Linked DNA regions of Homo sapiens: all the other regions are linked to region 1. The links are contacts of gene promoters, found by promoter capture Hi-C in blood cells and fetal thymus (Javierre and others, 2016). All regions are on one chromosome and are shown on one strand. Each heading gives the region's core, a stretch centred on a gene start or on the middle of the fragment in contact. The rest is flanking DNA. Distances are from core to core; before and after follow the strand shown.

Evidence for each region. Contacts are between HindIII fragments. The CHiCAGO score rates a contact against its expected background, and 5 or more counts as called.
Region 2: a fragment that was not itself captured here is called in contact with the fragment with the promoter of RAB13 in region 1 in 3 of 17 cell types (naive CD8 T cells, naive CD4 T cells and naive B cells); the score reaches 6.3 in naive CD8 T cells.
Region 3: a contact is called between a fragment that was not itself captured here and the fragment with the promoter of RAB13 in region 1, in 1 of 17 cell types (fetal thymus). The highest score is 5.0, in fetal thymus.

The regions. Positions count from the first base shown.
Region 1 is chr1:153,984,846-153,987,812 of GRCh38, reverse strand. RAB13 (RAB13, member RAS oncogene family) reads left to right here and starts at 1,474. Exons shown (of 8, transcript NM_002870.5): 1 at 1,474-1,700. The coding sequence starts at 1,577. RefSeq lists a silencer at 1,390-1,559 and enhancers at 1,371-1,872, 2,186-2,415. The HindIII fragment of the contact is 17,219 bases long and covers 1-2,967 here.
Region 2 is chr1:154,257,739-154,260,993 of GRCh38, reverse strand. UBAP2L (ubiquitin associated protein 2 like) reads right to left here. Exons shown (of 27, transcript NM_014847.4): 21 at 1,964-2,017; 22 at 965-1,046; 23 at 1-102. It overlaps SNORA58B (small nucleolar RNA, H/ACA box 58B), which reads right to left and starts at 1,267; the gene lies at 1,132-1,267. The HindIII fragment of the contact is 872 bases long and covers 1,347-2,218 here.
Region 3 is chr1:154,275,638-154,278,812 of GRCh38, reverse strand. HAX1 (HCLS1 associated protein X-1) reads right to left here. Exons shown (of 7, transcript NM_006118.4): 7 at 2,938-3,175. The coding sequence ends at 3,112. Among named protein-coding and RNA genes, the nearest start is that of HAX1, 4.6 kb to the right of the region's middle. The HindIII fragment of the contact is 2,442 bases long and covers 607-3,048 here.

The sequences.
Region 1 (2,967 bases), core at 225-2,724:
TGTATGGCTAATTTTTTTTTTTTTTTTTTTTTTTTTTTGTCGAAGCAGTCTCACTATGTTGCCCAAGCTGGTCTTGAACTCCTGGGCTTAAGGGATCCTCTCACGTTGGCCTCCCAAAGTGCTGGGATTACAAGTGTGAGCCACCGCAACAGGTCTTAGATAATATTTTCTTTCTTTCGTGTTTCGTATTTTTTTCCACCCCCAGCACACATATAGCAAGAATAATTTTTTTCTAAAGGCAGAGATAAACTTGTTTCTCTTTTACTCTCTTTCTTTCTTTCTTTTTTTTTTTTTTTTGAGACGGAGTCTGGCTCTGTCGCCCAAGCTGGAGTGCAGTGGCGCAATCTCGGCTCACTGCAAGCTCTGCCTCCCGGGTTCACGCCATTCTCCTGCCTCAGCCTCCCAAGTGGCTAGGACTACAGTCGCCTGCCACCACGCCCGGCTAATTTTGTGTGTGTGTGTGTATTTTTAGTAGAGATGGGGTTTCACCATGTTAGCCAGGATGGTCTCGATCTCCTGACCTCGTGATCCGCCCGCCTCGGCCTCCCAAAGTGCTGGGATTACAGGCGTGAGCCACCGCGCCCGGCAAACTTGTTTCTTTATACCCGTGCTGTTCATATTTCAGCTTCCTGGTTACCAAGGCTACACATTCATGGCCTATTGAGTGAGATTTCAGGAGTACTGCACCTTAAGTGGGCCATATTAAAAGATTCACGTAAAGAATGACATTTTTAGTTCAAATCTCTGTTTTCCTAAGCTATTTGGTCAGAGAAATCACACATGGGTCCCCATAAGAGAGATCGTTCCAACTGAAGCCCCAGGATGTGTCTAGGTAGGCTGTGTGTGTTGGGGTGGTGGGGCCGATTCTGTATAACTAATTTACGTTTTCACCCTGTTCCACCAGGGGGCAGACTGACTCAACAAATAACCTACTTCTGCGCATCCCGCTTTTTTCAAAGTGAATTGGGACCCATAGAACTAAGGGCTTGGACAACTAACAGTAAAATTCTAGGACTGCCTTTTACTCAGCCCCAGAAACCGATGATAACTCATCTTCTAGCTTCGTTGAATAGCATCTCCAAAACTCAGCCCCATTTTTTTTTTTCAATTTCTAGTGCTCTCCCTACCTTCACCCTTATTCCCAAAACTCTTGGTTCTCTTCCCCTAATCCCTCTAAAATTTCTCTTCTAAAATTTCTGGTCGTCGTGGTTAAACCTCTACTTCCCTTCACCCCAGCCTCTCTGGCCTCAGAATGGAAGAGTAAGGTCCTAAGAGGGGAGCTACAATTACCGAAAGGCTGTGGAAAATAGCGAGAGAGACAGGCCGGCCTAAGCTAGGAAGGGAAAACCGAGAGAACAGAGGCCGGGCTGGCAGCCTTGGCCTGCTCAAAAGGGTGGGCGGGCAGGGGGTGGAGCCCGGAGGGGTGCCGCCTCTCCTCTTTCCCGGAGCCTGGGCGGAGAGGGAGGAAAACTTCTTCCTGGCCTGGGCTCCGTGCCGCTCTGTTTGCCAACCGTCCAGTCCCGCCTACCAGTGCCGGGCGCTCCCCACCCCTCCCCCGGCTCCCCCGGTGTCCGCCATGGCCAAAGCCTACGACCACCTCTTCAAGTTGCTGCTGATCGGGGACTCGGGGGTGGGCAAGACTTGTCTGATCATTCGCTTTGCAGAGGACAACTTCAACAACACTTACATCTCCACCATCGGTGAGCCCGCTGGCCATGTCCCAGACCCCGACTCTCCTGTGACCTCCTTCTCCGGCTCCCGGATTACTAGTGACCCCACTTTTCAGTCCCCTTAGAGTAAGGCTCCTAAATTCTAGTCCCTCAACCCCTGGCTCTGACCCTTCCCCCGTGCATGTCTCTGTATAGTAACCAAACCTCTCACCTCTCTGAGGCCTTCAGGTAACTCTTCAACTGCTGCCAGCTCCTCATTTTCTTGGTACCATCGCCTTAGTCTCCCCAAATCCACAAGAACTCTTCTCTATTTTTCTCTGTTCCCCTCTTCCCCTACCCCCACCACCTAGAACTCTCTCGATCCTATCTCCATGTTTCCTGTATCCCTGTCCGCCACATCTTTTTCTCCCGATCCGATGCTAGCCTCTTTCTGTCTTGCTGAGCTTCAAACTCTCCCACTGTGTCCCCACCTCACCATCTACTTCCCAGGTTCCCTGCCCCAGTCTCCCTGCACCTCAGCTGAACAAGGGTTTGGGAAGGGTGGAACAAGGTGGCTGGGTGTGCTGGAGGGTGGCCCAAGGACTGTGATCATGAATATGCAGCCAGCTTGGTGAGGAACGTGGAAATGAGGGGACTTTTGGGGTCTCTGAGTCAGCCTGGTGACTCATCCTCCTCCCAGGGGCCCCCAGCAGGCTTGGGGGAGGTGCCCAAGTTTCTACTAAGAAGAACATTGTCTCCCCTCCTCCCTTCTCTTCTTTCTTCATCTCCTCTGGCTTGGGAAATAGACAGGAAGAGTCTCACGACAATTCTGGTTACAAAGGAAAAGGAAAAATGCCCCTCTTTCCTAATTGTCTCAAAAGTAATCCTGTTTAGCCTCAGACTTTCCTAGTGCCAAGTTTGGCCCACTAGTTAATTCACATAGACTGGCTTCAGCTACTTTTTTCCTTACTCTCTACTAGGAGGGTAGGTGGGATACCAAGAGTAGAGGGCTCTAAGAAAACAGAGAAGAGGAATGTGAAAGTAATATCTGGGGGGAGACAGAGACTGAATTCAGAGAGTTGTCAGCTGGTATAACTGAATGGACCCAAGAGGCAGCCTAAGGATTTTAAGCCTCCATGCAGAATTTTCGTCACCTTTTCCCTCCCAAAATCCATAAAATGTACGTAAAAATAGTATTCTTGCTATACAAATACAGCTTTGGGAAAATTCTCCTAGCTTGGCATTTCCAACAAGATTGTTCCCCAAGTGCCTCCCCTGCAGAATTTCTGGTGCCAGCACTGCTCCGTTCCTGTCCCTT
Region 2 (3,255 bases), core at 533-3,032, 270 kb before region 1:
GCGTGGTATGGTGAGTCTGCGTCTGGTTCTGTTGGGGTTGGGCCAAGGTTGTGGCCGGGGCTGGGGAGGAGGCATCCCCACGGCCGAACTTTGTGAGGTCACCTGTGACAGGAGAAGCTAAATGTACCTGCCTCTTTCACCCCAATACCAATACAGAATTACCTCTTCTGATTTCACATGATTCCAGGAGATCCTGTTCAAAGACTATTAAAGTTCAATTCCTTGAATTACATTTCTTAGTGGCTCCAATTATTGTTGCTCAGCATACACTTAGCACAGTTGCTGCAAGTCAAGGACTAATGTTGAATAACTGTGCAATGCTATGGCAGGAGGCTCTTGGAATAAGGCACCTGCACAATTTCTCTGCCCACTTGTGTTCTCTTTCATCTTCCCTCTTCTTCCCTCCCCTCTTCTCCTCCATGGGGAATACCCCATGCTGGACTTGAAGGACAACGATGGATCAGGGAAAACGGTAAGTCAATGAGGACAATGATAGGTCAGGTAAAAGAAGGAGTGGCAAGGCAGTGAGATTGCCACTGTGAGTAGTAGCATAAAGGGGCAGAGATGAGCAGAGAAGACCACCTCAACCACTGTATTTCCTGGAAAAAGCTAGCAAATGGCTTGAAACTAAGTCAAGATATCACTTTTTTTGGAGATGGGGTCTTGCTATGTTGCCCAGGCTGGTCTTGAACTCCTGGGCTCAAGCAATTCTCCCACCTTGGCCTCCCAAGTAGCTGAGACTACAAGTGTGTGCTACCATGCCTGGCTAAGATATCATCTAGAAATCACAGGGAGACAACACAAAGTGGGATGAATAGGAAAAGCCATGACATGCCCAACTTTAGCAGGATTTTGAATCTACCAATCCTGATTTATCACATCCCTTCTTGCTACCAATCAGGTGTCTGCCATCAATCCCAACACTATCTCCCTTTTTATTTATTTAGTCCCATCCCAATCCTACCAGAATAAGGGTTGCTGGCCAGGCTACCATCCCTCCCAGTCAGCGGAGTAGTGGGTGTGGGAAATGGGATGCTGTAGTAATCCTAGAAAAGAGGGGAAAAAAGAGCAGAGATTCAATGTCACTCATTCCCCAGCATGAGTACTATTTCCACGGAGGAAAAAACAGAAGAATGTGAGAGTTGTGCAATTTATCCAGTCACTAATTAAGCTGGCTAGAGTTAGCACAAACTCCACATTACTCTTGCATACACTGTCCCCCCTGCCTGGCCATGAGCACAGTCAGACAAGGTCTACGGGTATGCCCACTTGAGAATACATCAAAGTCCACGAGGACCAATATTTTCAACCCTCTAGGTGTCATCCCTATCAGTTTATACCAAGCTTATTCTACTGAGAAAACAGATCATTCGATAATTTAAAGTGTCTGGGACAAACAGAAAGCACCCTGAGTGCTCCAGAGTACTTTACTGGGCTATAGAATAGGTTAAAATGTATTTACTAAGATGCCACAACTCTGATTTAAAAAAAGAAAAAAAAAAGGCTGGGTGCGGCGGCTCATGCCTATAAGCTCAGCACTTAGGGAGGCAGAGGCGGGTGGATCATAAGGTCAGGAGTTCAAGACCAGCTTGGCCAAGATGGTGAAACCCCGCCTCTACTAAAAATACAAAAAAAATTAGCTGGGGGTGGTGGTGGGCACCTTTAATCCCAGCTACTCGGAAGGCTGAGGCAGACAATTGCTTTAACCCAGGCGGCGGAGGTTGCAATGAGCCAAGATCACACCACTGCACTCCAGCTTGAGCGACAGAGAAAGACTCTGTCTCAAAAAAAAAAGTTATCTTCTGTTGGAAACCCTCCCCCAAATCCCTATATTCTAATATGCCTTAAATCAGAGTGTATGGAGGGCTGGGATGGGAAAGAGCTATGTCTGTGACGGAGATAATTCTCCCAACACTAATTTTAAGACTACTTTCTTTTCCAAAGCTCTATCCCACATACTCACCAATGGAAATCTTGTCTGAAGCATCTGCAAGTCATCATAACCATATACTTGTGGCTGAAAGATACAGACATATAGCAATAACAGGAACTGGTCATGATGTTAGCAAAACAAGGAGCCAAGAGACAAGCTAATTCAACAGAACATTCATCCTCATTCTGGGTTAGAACAGGACACGGATTATTTCCTTCAATTTTATTTAAGGAAAAAGCAGTAAAGTACACAGAGATTAAATGATTCATGAAAGGTCTTGAAGCTTTCCTTGAGCTAAATACTACTGATTCTAGTAGGCTGGCTTCTTGATACCAATAGAGTAGACACAAAACATACACGAACAACCAGTTTTACTCTCTATTCTACAAGTCTCTGTCTCTTATACTCTTCAAAATCTGGCTTAAAAATAATCTCCTCTGGAAAGAATACTTCACTTTTCTCCAATGTCAGGGTTTTAAGGTAGTGACCACAAATTAAAAATGTGTAACTGTGTTATTTGGATGTGTCATCGGTATGAAATTTATCTAGACTTTGTCTATGAGGGCAGGAACAGGTATCTTCTAAAACGTTTCCATATATCCTTCATCTTAATAGGTACCAAATACTTGAAGGTCACAGAAGATACACTAGGGCAAAAAGCTACTAATGTCAGCCACTTATTCTCAAAGTCCCAGATTGAGTCAGGAAACTTTCCTCTAACCAGGCCAGACCAGCAAACACACTCAGAGTTAGGGATTTAATCAAATCAGAGAAAATAATTCTTGGGGCCAGGAGTAGTGGCTCAGGCCTATATATAACCCCAGTTATTTGAGAGGCTGAGGCAGGAGGACTGTCTGAACCTGGGATTTTGAGACCAGCCTAGGCAACATAGGAAGACCCTGTCTCTAAAAAAATTTTTAAAACTTAGCCAGGCATGGGGATGCACACCTGTAGTCCTAGCTACTTGGGGAGTCTGAGGTGAGAGGATTGCTTGAGCCCAGGAGTTCAAGGCTGCAGTGAGCTAGCTATGATCGTTCCACTGTACTCCAACCTGGGTAAAAGAGCAAGATCTGCCTCAAAAAATAAAATAATAGTCATAATTATCTAAGAAACCAAAAAGGATTCCAGATGAACATTCTGGCCTTTGGCTTCTGAGGCCCAGAAGCTGTGTTTCAAACAGGGCAGATATTCTCATCACACATATACATACACATTGTACGCACACACACACATGCATACATGTGTGCACCATAAACCAAAGCAGATACACAATAGATGGGTTGGCCTCAGTTTAGTATTTTTTCCAAAACTGCAAAGATTAA
Region 3 (3,175 bases), core at 578-3,077, 290 kb before region 1:
CCATGCCCGGCCACCACTCTTTTTTTTTTTAAATATTTATTTTTTATTTTATATTTTGAGACGGAGTCTTGCTCTGTTACCCAGGCTGGAGTGTATGGTGCAATCTCGGCTCACTGCAACCTCTGCCTCCCGGGTTCAAGTGATTCTCATGCCTCAGCCTTCCGAGTAGCTGAGATTACAGGCCCGTACTACCTTGCCTGGCTAATTTTTGTATTTTTAGCAGAGACAGCAAGTTATCCGCCCATCTTGGCCTCCCAAAGTACTGGGATTACAGGCGCGAGCCACCACTCTCGGCCTTTTTTTTTGAGACAGTCTCACTTTGTTGCCCAGGCTGGAGTGCAGCAGCATGGTCATGGCTCACTGCATCCTTGACCTCATGGGCTCGACAACGTCCCACCTCAGACCCCTGAGTAGCTGGGACTACAGGCATGCACCACCATGCCCAGCTAATTTTTAAATTTTTTTGTAGAGACAGGGTTTCCCTATGTTGCCCAGGCTGGTCTCAATTGATCCTCTCCGCTCAGCTTCCCAAAGTGCTGAGATTACAGGTGTGAGCCACTGTGACTGGCCCCAGATTTGCCCCTCTTAACCACAGTACTAAAAGCTTTTGTTGTTGTGATTGGGTCTCACTCTGTCGCCCAGGCTGGAATGCAGTGGTGTGATCATAGATCACCGCAGCCTCGAACTCCAGCCTCCAGGGATCCTCCTGTTTTAGCCTCCTGAATAGCTGAGACTACAGATGTGGGCCACCATGCTCAGCTAATTTATTTATTTATGTTTTTTGAGATGGAGTCTCGCTCTGTCAACCAGGCTGGAGTGCAGCAGCACAATCTCAGCTCACTGCAACTTCCACCCCCTGGGTTCAAATGATCCTCCCGCCTCAGCCTCCTAAGTAGCTGGGATTACAAGTGTGCACTACCACACCCAGCTGATTTTTGTATTTTTAGTAGAGTTGGGGTTTCACCATGTTGGCCAGGCTGGTCTCGAACTCCTGACGTCAAGTGATCTGCCCACCTTGGCCTCCCAAAGTGTTGGGATTACAAGTGTGAACCACAGTGCCCAGCCTGCTTGAACTCCTGACCTCAAGTGATCCACCCGCCTCAGCCTCCCAAAGTGCTGGGATTATAGGTGTGAGCAACGATGCCCAGCCTGCTCAGCCAATTTTTAAAAAATATTTTGCGGGGCGTGGTGGCTTACGCCTGTAATCCCAGCACTTTGGGAGGCTGAGGCAGGCGGATCACAAGGTCAAGAGATCGAGACCAGCTTGGCCAACATGGTGAAACCCTGTCTCTACTAAAAATACAAAAATTAGCTGGGCGTGGTAGCACGTGCCTGTAGTCCCAGCTACTCGGGAGGCTGAGGCAGGAGAATCACTTGAACGCGGGAGGCAGAGGTTGCAGTGAGCCGAGATTGCGCCACTGCACTCCAGCCTGGGTGACAAAGCGAGAGTCCATCTCAAAAAAAAAAAAAAAAAAAAAAATATATATATATATATATATATATTTTAGAAATAGGATCTTGCTATGTTGCCTCCGCCTCCTGGGCTCAAGTAATCCTCCTATCTCAGCCTCCCAAGTAGCTAGGATGATAGGTACAGTCTAACACACCTGGTTAAAAACTTTTATAATGAGAAAAGGAAGCCTGGGCAACATGGCAAAACTCCGTCTCTACAAAAAATACAAAATAATAATAATAATAAAAGGAAAAAAAACGAGAAAAAAAATTAGCTAGGCATGGTGGTGTACGCCTGTAGTCCCAGCTACTCAGGAGGCTGAGGTGGGAGGACTGAGCCCAGGTCGAGGCTACAGTGGGCCAACATCGCCCCCTACACTCCAGCCTGTGTGACAGAATGAGACCCTGCCTCAAAAAGAAAAAAGGACCTAGTAACGTTTGTGCCAGGTGTATTTTCTCTAACATACATAACAATTTTTTGAGATGGAATTTCGTTCTTGTTGCTCAAGCTGGAGTGCAATGGCATGATCATGGCTCACTGCAACCTCCACCTCCTGAGTTCCAGCAATTCTCCTACCTCAGCCTCCCAAGTAGCTGGGATTACAAACATGTGCCACCACATCTGGCTAATTTTTGTATTTTTAGTAGAGACAGGGTTTCACCGTATTGGTCAGGCTAATCTCGAACTCCTGACTTCATGTGATCCATCTGCCTCGGCCTCCCAAAGTGCTGGGATTACAGGCGTGAGCCACCACACCCAGCCACATAACAACTTTTTAAGGCCAGTAAAGTAAGGGAAATTTACCCATGTGCTTCCCCAGTTACTTCATGAACTCTCCAGTCAGTGATCCCACACTCAGGGAAGCAGTTAACCCCTACTTCCACACCCACACCCTTTTTTTGGGAATCTGATGTATCCCTCTCTAGAAATTTTCCTGAAATTATTTCTAGTCATCTCCTCAGTAAGAAAAATCATTTTTCTTTTTCTTTTCTTTTCTTTTTTTTTTTTTTTTTTTTTTTTGAGATGGAGTTTCACTCTTGTCGCCCACGCTGGAGTGCAATGGCGTGATCTCGGCTCATTGCAACCTCCTCCTACCAGGTTCAAGCGATTCTCCTGCCCTAGCCTGGGATTACAGGCACCCGCCACCATGCCCAGCTAATTTTTGTATTTTTAGTAGAGACAGAGTTTCACCACATTGGCCAGGCTGGTCTTGAACTCCTGACCTCAGGTTATCTGCCTGTCTCAGCCTCCCAAAGTGCTGGGATTACAGGCATGAGCCAACGAGCCCGGCCTCTTTTTTTTTTTTTCTTGCTTGAGAAAGAAAAATCATTTTCTACTTGTGCCTGACCCTTACTTATGAAATCAGGTTTTAGATGCAGAATAAAAAATTAAGGAATAAGGAGAAGGCAGAGGACCAAGATAATTTCGGAAGTGTTGGATGGTTCTAGAAACTGAAATAGCCTTGACAAAACCAAGACAAAAAATTAGCATAAATAAAGGTTTTATTGGTCAGTTTGGGTGAGTGACAAACTGACATGGCCCCAGTTCACTATTCCACATATCCAAGCCCCTGAGGTGGCAAGAGAAGCTAAGCTTATTAATGGTGGGCAATGGGTGAGAGGTGGAAAGGACTTGAAGGCCTCTGAGGGTTAACAAGGCTACCGGGACCGGAACCAACGTCCCAGGAATAAGTCCAGGATGGAAAAGGCATCATCCAGGGCT